Regions from separate parts of the Homo sapiens genome. Here all the other regions are linked to region 3. Evidence: promoter capture Hi-C in 16 types of primary human blood cells and fetal thymus (Javierre and others, 2016). All regions are on one chromosome and are shown on one strand. Each heading gives the region's core, a stretch centred on a gene start or on the middle of the fragment in contact. The rest is flanking DNA. Distances are from core to core; before and after follow the strand shown. Region 1 overlaps RPP30 (ribonuclease P/MRP subunit p30). Region 2 holds the start of ATAD1 (ATPase family AAA domain containing 1). Region 3 holds the start of KIF20B (kinesin family member 20B).

Evidence for each region. Contacts are between HindIII fragments. The CHiCAGO score rates a contact against its expected background, and 5 or more counts as called.
Region 1: a contact is called between a fragment that was not itself captured here and the fragment with the promoter of KIF20B in region 3, in 1 of 17 cell types (total CD8 T cells). The highest score is 5.0, in total CD8 T cells.
Region 2: a contact is called between a fragment that was not itself captured here and the fragment with the promoter of KIF20B in region 3, in 1 of 17 cell types (activated CD4 T cells). The highest score is 5.2, in activated CD4 T cells.

The regions. Positions count from the first base shown.
Region 1 is chr10:90,893,968-90,897,184 of GRCh38, reverse strand. RPP30 (ribonuclease P/MRP subunit p30) reads right to left here. Exons shown (of 11, transcript NM_006413.5): 7 at 2,294-2,410; 8 at 1,702-1,731; 9 at 1,268-1,305; 10 at 793-872. Among named protein-coding and RNA genes, the nearest start is that of RPP30, 24 kb to the right of the region's middle. The HindIII fragment of the contact is 428 bases long and covers 1,046-1,473 here.
Region 2 is chr10:87,817,639-87,820,717 of GRCh38, reverse strand. ATAD1 (ATPase family AAA domain containing 1) reads left to right here and starts at 2,492. Exons shown (of 10, transcript NM_001321967.2): 1 at 2,492-2,551. It also overlaps the pseudogene CFL1P1. RefSeq lists a silencer at 2,345-2,394. The HindIII fragment of the contact is 903 bases long and covers 1,163-2,065 here.
Region 3 is chr10:89,699,930-89,703,056 of GRCh38, reverse strand. KIF20B (kinesin family member 20B) reads right to left here and starts at 1,467. Exons shown (of 33, transcript NM_001284259.2): 1 at 1,377-1,467. RefSeq lists enhancers at 789-1,305, 1,306-1,821 and a silencer at 1,866-1,945. The HindIII fragment of the contact is 4,302 bases long and covers 1-1,964 here.

The sequences.
Region 1 (3,217 bases), core at 10-2,509, 1.2 Mb before region 3:
TTGTTTTAATAAAATTTCACTTTCATTTTCCAAAGTTTCAGCATACTTTCAATTTTTAACATCTGATGAGCAGGAAACTCAGTCAGTGAAAAGGTACATATACAAAATGTGAGTAAAAAATGTACAGTCTGGCCGGGCATGGTGGCTCATGTCTGTAATCCTAGCACTTTGGGAGGCTGAGGTAGGAGGATTGCTTGAGCCCAGGAGTTCAAGACCAGCCTGGGCAACATAGTGAGACTCTGTCTCTATTTAGAAAAAGAAAAAAAAATAAAAAAGGTACAGTCTGGACACAACTTGACCATGTAAGCAAACATGAGAAAAGAAACATTCTGAGTTATAATAAATGTAAAAGTTACAGTCTATGTTTTGTTAGTTGGATTTTTAAAAATGTATTTGCTGGTTTTGTTTTCCTAATAAATAGTTTAACACATATTTTTAACATATCCGTTCTCTAAAACAGAGATTTTCAACAGGGAAAGCATGGCCTTCTGGTGAGGGAGAAGAAGGAAGGGAGATTAGAAGCCTATCAAAATGTCGGCAGGAGCACACATGTATAGCTGGAAGAACTATTCAATACTTATTTCTGTAATGAAAACTATATTCATTCTACAAACTTTAGAAAGTAAAGCCTGAAGTGAGGGTGAGAAAACACTGATGACTGTGTTTAGAACAGGTTGAGAAAAGATGATCCCAAAGGAACTCTGTAGGGTAGGGCAATAAAAATAGGTATGGCTGTAAAAATGACTTGCTTTTAACATGACCATTCAGTTTGTACTGGAAGAACTTGCTTACCTCCATGGAGAAGCGCTGCTCGGCAGTTGGTGGACACCGCAGCCTTGGCGTCACTTTCAGAGAGCCCAAACAGCAAGCCTCTTGGGGGAGCATTAAAGATTTCAACCCAGAGTCACCCAAGGACACGAGACTAACACAAACATAACAGAAAGTGCCAGCTAACCTGGTCATCTTGAGAGGCTAATTAATTCAACAGCAGTTCTTAGTCCAACTGGAACATGCATCTGAGAAAAGACTCATTTAACTCTAAGCTTTTATCATATGAAGTCCCTCATTCCCTCTTTTCTATCTCATGATTAATTAAAAAACAGAAGCATAAAGCTCTCTATAATGTTATATAATTTATTTTTGAAGTTATTAATTGGTAAACTTACAGTAAAAGGTTGAGAAAAATACATGTTCAACTATAATACGACTTCAAATTCAAAATTTCCTGAAAGACAATGTCAACAACTTTTTACTCAGAAAAGGATACAGATTTGCCACGTCATATGGCCCTCTTATTTCTAAAGGCTGAAATAAAATGAACAAAGAGTAGATATGAGAAAATTATTTATAACATTTCAATGACTTATAGCAAATTAATAGAAAATTTAAGTATCCAAAAATAAAAAAATTACATAAATTTAAGTCCTTATAATTTTGATGGGTTTCATAGCTTTTGAAAATATAAGAGAAGCTTGAAAGGCATTTTGTAACAGTATAAAAGAAAAACTGATTATATAAACAAAAGTTGAAGCCTAAAGAAAGTGGGGATAAATTTTACTATTTAGCAATTACAATGAGCAAATGCAGTTAAAATAGAAAAAAATGCAACAAATATTCATTTACTATTTTAATTTATCCCCTAGAAACTGAAAAGTTTTATAACCTGAAAGATGAAAACAAAGTACTTCATGCTAGACTTACCCTTTCTGCAGCACTAGATATAATTACATTCTACAAAATAGAAAGTGACTAATATTAATCTTAGATAAATGTAAAAAAAGGAGTTTCATAATATAAATAGCCAGTAATCATATTTTAACATTTAAGGCTCAAATACCAACTTCTTTTAAAGATAAGGTAAATAATTAAGGTGAAAAAAATGAAAAGACTTCATGTCAAACTAAAGGCAATCTGTAATAAAAAACAAAATATGTTTTCCTAACAGATCTTAGTAAAGGTGAATTAAGTTTAAAAAACAAGATGAAAAGGTCACATATCTTAATTCAACTCAGTGAGGACCATTGTTATTCTAGACTTTTCTTTCACAGTATGTAAATTGCAAATTTTTATCAAAAGATATGGCTTCCAACACATCTTTTTCTCCCTTACATTATTCTTCCCTTGGTATTTTTCTTTCCCTTAAAATTTGCAGAGCTCACTGAAATGGCAGAATTTGTTCCTATGCTATGAGAACATTCTGCTTTAAGGAAAAGGAGTCAGTTTGACAATTCCAGTGTACTACTAATAATAAACTGCCAGATGCGAAAAACATCCTAAAATTATAGAACCATACCTTTCCTTTGCAGATTTGCATCAAATTGAGGGCACTGGAAATTGTATACCTTCTCATTGTGGAGTCTTTGATAGCAGGGCTATAGACAAGTTCAAAAGCCAGGCCTCGGTCAATCGCCTTCACAGGAAATAAAGAGAACTGTCAGAGATAAGCATGCACTGGCCTACTTCATTTTCACTGATTCTCTCTTCACATCCCTCCTCACTCCCTACTACTGACCCCTTACATGTCAAGGTACAGCTTTATGAAAGACAGATCAACACTCAAATGGCACCACCCACAAGGAGAAGAAAATAAATCCGTGGCTCTACTTGATTAAGAGAGTTTAACTTGGCTGTGGGGAAGCTGACTTTACATAAACAGGAATTATGAAGAGGCTAAGAAGAACAAAGTCCCAATGGCGTGAGAGAGGGGCTACTACTCCATGAACTATCAAAAGGAAAACAGAAATGTACTCCCTACATTTACAGTAAACTGTATACAAACATAGTAAACCAAGTAATCTGACCTATGAATGCACAAAGAGACAAAGAAATGAAGAGCTGAAAAAAGCCCAAAGAACCAAGGGCAGGAAGGTCTTTCAGGTAAGTAATTTATTCTCTATATGTTGAAGAGAGAATAACAGCCATAGTTAATTGAGTGCTGACTATATGCTAAGAGAGTCTTATATATAATATTTAATCCTTACTACAATACCTTTATAAAGCATTACTGCAAAGCCTGCAAATTGCCCAGATATCTGTCCTCTCCTTTTTCTTTAGTAATAAAGCCCCTGATTTTTCACTGGGCTTATAGCCGCACAGCAAAAAAGATGGAAGTGCCCTTGAAGATTTTGCCCAGCTCACCATACAAGCTTGGCTTTTTTCATGAGAAACAGAAACTTCTTTATTTAATGTACTCTTACTACAGAGGGATCCACAGGTA
Region 2 (3,079 bases), core at 365-2,864, 1.9 Mb after region 3:
GGCATTTGGTTTCCAGTGGCTGAACCACTGGAAAGGGAGTGAGGTGTAGCACTTTTCGAGCTTGTAGACTCTTTATGGTCAGCCTCGTGACTTTATTCAACAGTTTCCCTTCCTGTGCAATCATCCCTCAAATATTAGGCAGATGAATTGAGACTAGATGTAACCATACTGGGAACTCCATTTCATTGTAGGATTCATTTAGGATGTCTCTAGTAGAGTGACTCATGATTTGCCTGAGACTTTGTCAGCCAGTTTTATATCCCAGCAAACCTTTTAGTCTCATGCAAACTGAAACTGGGTAGGCTGGTCACCCTGGTCCTTAGAAGAGGGCAGGTGAGGCTCTTAGTTGAACCAATTTCACTCAGTAAATGAATGAAAATCCATTACTATCTTGAATTTCTCAGCTCATTTTCCTTACCAGTGGATATAATTACCCTATTGGGGCACAAAACCTGTTTCTTGCCTTTAGTGACCCTCCCCCTTTTAGCCCTGCCAAACCATGTGTCCATGAGCCTCCCAAGCAATGATTCAGCTTGGGATCATCCAAGGACCCAGTGGAGAGTCTCTTGAAAGTCTGCTGAGCACTGATAGCCTCTGTTTTTTGTTGTTGTTGTTGTTGTTTGTTTTTAATGAACATTGTCCTCGTCTCATAATCTTTCCGTTCTTCTCAAAGGTCTATCTCTCTAAATAGTCTAGTAATCCCAAACCTAGCTTCACATCCATTTTTTTTTTAAATTAGGAATGTAGGCATGCACGTATATAAAGCCTTAAATACTAAACAGGCACGGGTGTATTCAATTCCATTCTGATTCCTGTCCATGAACTTAATCATAGTTTTCAACATTCATGCATCCCTTTCATCCCATCCTTTAAAGCCTTGTGATTTTGGCATTTCATGGTCTTACTTTCAACTAGATTTTAAAGTTTAGCTGGTATTAAATTACCATCTCAAAGAGAAAACGTAAAGTACAAGGTATGAATTAGACAGACCTATGTTCCAATGAAATTGTTGCCTTTATTTCCCAAGTATATGAACTTAGAAAAGTTTCTCTAAGGTTTAAGCTTTAAAATTTGCTCATTTGTAAAAACGGAGAAAATGATAGCTATTTTAGAGGATTTTGGGGGAGATATTTAGGTTATGCATGTAAAGCACATAGAAGCTTATTGCCCCACCCCAGCAGACATTAACTAGGTATTATCTTCACCACATTATTACAAGTTTGTAACTAGTAACATTCGTTAACAATCAGGCTGCAAAATTGTTATTATTATTGAGACAGGGGCTTGCTCTGTCGCCCAGGCTGGAGTGGAGTGGCTTGATCACTGCAGCCGTGATCTCCCACGCTCAAGCGATTCTCCCACCTCAGCCTCCCAAGTAGCTGGGACTACAGACATGCGCCACCAAATCCAGCTAATTTTTAGGTGGTTTTTTTTTTTTTTTTTTTTTTTTTTTTGTAGAGACGATTTCTCATTATGTTGTCCAGGCTGGTCTCGAATTCCTGACCTCAAGTGATCCTCTCGCTTCGGCCTCCCAAAGTGTTGGGATTACAGGCGTAAGCCACCGCGCTGGCCAAGCTGCAGAATTCTTTAGCCATCAAAGATGATGCCTCAAGTAGAAAGGCACAAGCTGCCTTCCTGAGGAACACAGGGAGAACTCTCATTACATCATAGTCTCACCGACTCTGTCTGAAGGAAGTGATGCTTCTCGTATCTCAGGAGTGTCTAATGTCATCTGGCCCACCGGCAGTTTGTGTATTCAGGAGGCTCTGGCTTTCAGGTTTGCTCCCTTGGGACCTCTTGTGTCACGTCGCTCGTTCTGGAAAGGAAAAGGGGTGAAAGAAAAAGGGAAATCACCAAAATGCAAAATCTGTTACCAGATGCCCTATTCCGTCCTAACTACCGAGTCTGGTGGCGTGGGCTGCTAAATCTTTTCGCGGAAAGATTGTCAGGCGCCACCCCGAGGTGTTTGTCAGCACAGAGATGGGGGAGAAGGGTGAGCTCACCCGAGAATTGAAAGGCAGGTGGTGAGGGATGAGGGGTGAGGAGTGGAGGGTGGCCATAAGCTTCTGCGTTTTGGCTAAAGTACAGACACAAAGCCGCGGCGTGAGGGTTTGCACAGAGTGGTGGGAAGGAGAGAATGTATTTGCTGGGTACGCAGAGCATTTCTGCACTCTCAAGAAGGCTGCCCGATTTGTCAGGGTTGCGCCCCGAGCCCGCGAGAAGGGCAGGGACTTTTTGTGATAAGCGCCTTCCCAAAGGTAGTGTCTGTTAAACGCAGAGCCTTAGCGAGTGCTGCTCGCAGACACGCCGGCTTCGCAGAAAGTCTCAGTCTAGCAGGTAGCTTAAGCAGACATCAGGTGCGCGAATTTGCTCTCCCTCACTGTTTCTAAGCCTGGGAGCACGCCCCCTCCGCGCCGGCGACCGCGGGTCGCGCATGCTCCGTGGGAGGGAGTGCGCCGCGCCTCCCGCCGGAAGCGTTCTCTCCCAGGTTGCGTTTCCTTCCTGTGTGAGGCCGGCTGAGGGCACTTGCTCTTGCTGTTTCTGCCCCTGGGTGAGTAGCTGGTTCCCGTGGGGCCTCATGGGATGGTTGTCGTATCCTTCTGAGGTCCTTTAAGGACCGTCTCGGACCTGGGAACCCCCGGAGGAAAGGTCACCCCGGTCTTCTCCCACGCCCTACCTCAGTGCCGCCCCCAAGCGCCCCGCAGCCCTTAGTATCTAGAGGATTAACCTCCAAGGGCGTCCCGGGCCTCGCCTTGGCGTCCGGCCCGGCCTGGGCCCTTAGGGTCTGCTTAGCTCTTCCCCAAGACTCGTGCCATTCCCGAGGGAATCTTTGTCGGCATCCTGGTCACTGTGGGGGTTTGAGGTCGTCCCGGAAGACTTCAGAACCAGGCGAACCTAGACGAAGGCGGCTGGAATGAACCAGGTCTGATTGTCGCACAGGCGCGGCCACCACCTTGTGCAAAATCGAAGGTGGTTCTTCAGGGCCGGGCACGCTTTCACAAAAGATGGTGATGTTAATAATAACCTGCCCTCTTTGTGAAGATTGGCAGGCCTTCATTGTCATAGGCTGTATTCGTAG
Region 3 (3,127 bases), core at 218-2,717:
CTATGTACTAAAAGCAGTTATAATAAAGTATTTGTTCATATGCTCATTTTTCAATGAACAAACTACTTCCTAGCATTTCTAAAAGTGTTCAGACTTACTGTAACTTCTTGCGATTTTAGATGACTTCTACTTATACGTGGCCTTCCCAACTAAACTGGAAACTTCTTGATGGCAAGAACCTTGCCTTATACCACTCTGTATCCCCTATAACAAATTCAGCGACTTATGCAGGGATAAAGACTACCTAATGACTTAAAATAATGGTTATAAAGAAAATACTATTCCAAAAAAAAAAAAAAAAGTCGGTCCTAGTCTGTAATATTATCTTTCGTGACAGCAGGCTCCAAGACCTCATTTTTCATTTCAAAAGGCTGCTCTGACTGGAAAACTGCATATTTACCCTCTCTCCAATAAGAATCCACAATTGGAGACTTTGGTGAAAAATAGCAGAATCTGTTGCTGAATGAGGTTTCTGAATGTGGTCTACAACACAAAGCCTCAAAAAAAGTCTTCACAACTAATCGATGAGTATTTTATGTTATTTTTACAATTTAAAATCTGGAGTCTTGGACATGTAAGATAAATACACTGTTACACTACCTAACCCATAAGGCGTGAACTTCTGTAAACTAGTAGTTTAGCAAGAAATATAAGAGAACTGTGCCAGACATGCATCACTGAACCAGCGAGCGAATCGAGATGGAGAAAGCCTTCTAAACTGGGGAATGACAGCAGTCACTGTGCCACAAACTCTTCAGCCTGGCACTGCAAAACCCTAGAAGGGCAAGCCCCAAGGACCAGTAGGAGTAGTCTGGAAATAAGTGCACAGAGGCTACCACAGGGCTCCCCCCGCAAAAAGGCCGTGTTACCTACCAGCCGAGCAAACTGCTCACCTCAGAGCTTCAGAAAACTAGGTGTGGCAAAACAGGCCTGTTCCTCAACAACAACAGAAGCAACAACAATAATAATATTAATAACTGCAAACATTTAGTACCTACTGTGTGCCAGCACTAATAACTTTACACATTACCATTTAATCTTCACAAAAGCCGAAAGAAATAGACACTTCATTGCAGCCTTTTAACTGATAAGAAAACTAAGGTACAGAGAGAGATTAAATGAATTGTCTTGCGTCACTCAGCTAATTAGCAGTGGAGGCGAGATTTAAACCGTAACCGAATTAGTATGACTCATTCCTCGCTGCGTACCCCGTGTTCGCATCGCTCCGCAACCCAGTTCCTGACAGTAACCTCCACTGGGGTATGAGCCCTGTCGGAACATGTCCACATTGCCAAAGCCGTTTCCCCACCTTAGGCCCCATACATGCGCAGTCACCCACCTCCTTCCCCACACATTCCCGCGGGTCACCTCCTCACCTGCAAACTTCGCCTGACTAGCCAGACCCGCGAGCAGCACTGCGATGTTACCGTTTTCAAATTCAAACAATGGCGGCCAGGGCACCGCACTGAACGCTGGGAGTAGGTGGGGCGTCCAGAGCTCCGCCAGGGAGCGTAGCCGGCTCGCGCTGCGGGCTTTCCAGTGGCTACCGGAAGAAGCTCTCCAATATGGGGGCGGGTCTTGAAACGCGGGCAGCCAATGGGCGGAAGCAGGCGTGGGCCGCCCTGGTGCTGACGGTCTGGTTTGCCTCCCAGCTCTGCTAGCCGGGCTTTAGTAGTGCGCTTTCTCGCGGCTGTCATAAGTACCACGCTGTTGACTGGGACACCGATCTCCAATTCTGTCCTTGAGGCAATAAAGATGTGGCGAAGGCCCGAGGTGAGGCCACTGCCACTGCACTTAGTCCTGCGACTCCCCTAAGGACGGGCCGAGGAATGGCGGGCTAGCCACTTCCCAGTCCTGTCCCTACGGGGCAGAAAAAGGCTCGGCATCCCGGGATCCGGAGGGTCACTTCCCTCGCTGCATCCCCATTGTGCAACTGCCAGTCTAAAAATTGATATAGGTAAGCTTATGAATGCTAAAACTAATGAATGCAAGATGCTAAAACAAACAATTAACTGAAAGGTTGTAGGGAAGAGGATGTTAGTATCTCAAAGAATCACCCTACAGATCATTTCTTATTATAAAGGGAAAATAGAATTTTACACTGAAGAGATTTATTAGACATACCTTAACCAAGTGAAGATACTTAGCATCGCTAATATCACCCGATAGTATTTGTGCTAGAAATGTTTGACATTAATCATGAGGAAACAATCAGAAAAAAACAATGTAGAATATTCTACAAGACAACAGGCCTAGGCTCTTCAAAAATGTCAGTGTCATGACAGGAAAAAGAAAAAAACGAAGTGGAAAATTACTTTAGTCGAGAGTCAAAAGAAACCAAATGAAATTTGTGAATCTTGGCTGGTTCATAGTTTTTAAAAAAAAAAAAAAACTTCGAAAGACATTTGTGGACAACTGGGGAAATTTAAATATGAACTACATATTAGATGATATTGAATCAGTTTTAAATTGATTGCATGTGAGAATTAATTTGTGATTAAGTGGAAGAATGCCTTTGTTTTTGGAAGGCGCTTGCTAAAGTAATTAGCAGCAAAGTGTCACAGTGTTTGCGGCTTACCTTCAAAAGATATGGCAAAAAAATAGAGAAAGCAAATGTGGCAAAATATTAGTAATTGGTGAATCTAGTTGAAGGGTATAATGGTGTACATCGTACCAGTCTTGCAACTTTCTAAAATAACAGATTTTATAAAATAAAAAGAGGAGGGGGGAAAAGGAATAGAATTCTGATCTTTACCATGGCCTCCCAGGTCCTGCACAATCAAGTGTCAGCCGACCTCACTCCCCACTAACTGTACAGTAAGTTGATCTGCTCTGGATACCTCAAACACCAACTTCTTTCCAGCATGTATGAACCTTTGCATGGGTTGTTCCCTGTACCTAAATTCTCTCTTCTCCATTCAACACGTGGCACTTCCCTTCATCATTTAGGTTACGTCTAAAATAGTACCTTCTTAAAGAAGACTTTCCTGGCTACTGTATCTCAAGTGAGCACTCTTTTTTTATTTGCAGGTTCAATTTCATTTTTATACTTTTTACAACTAGCAATTGTTGTTGTTCCCCCACCCTGTAAAATCTAAGTTCTGTGAGTAGAATAACTGTGTTTTGT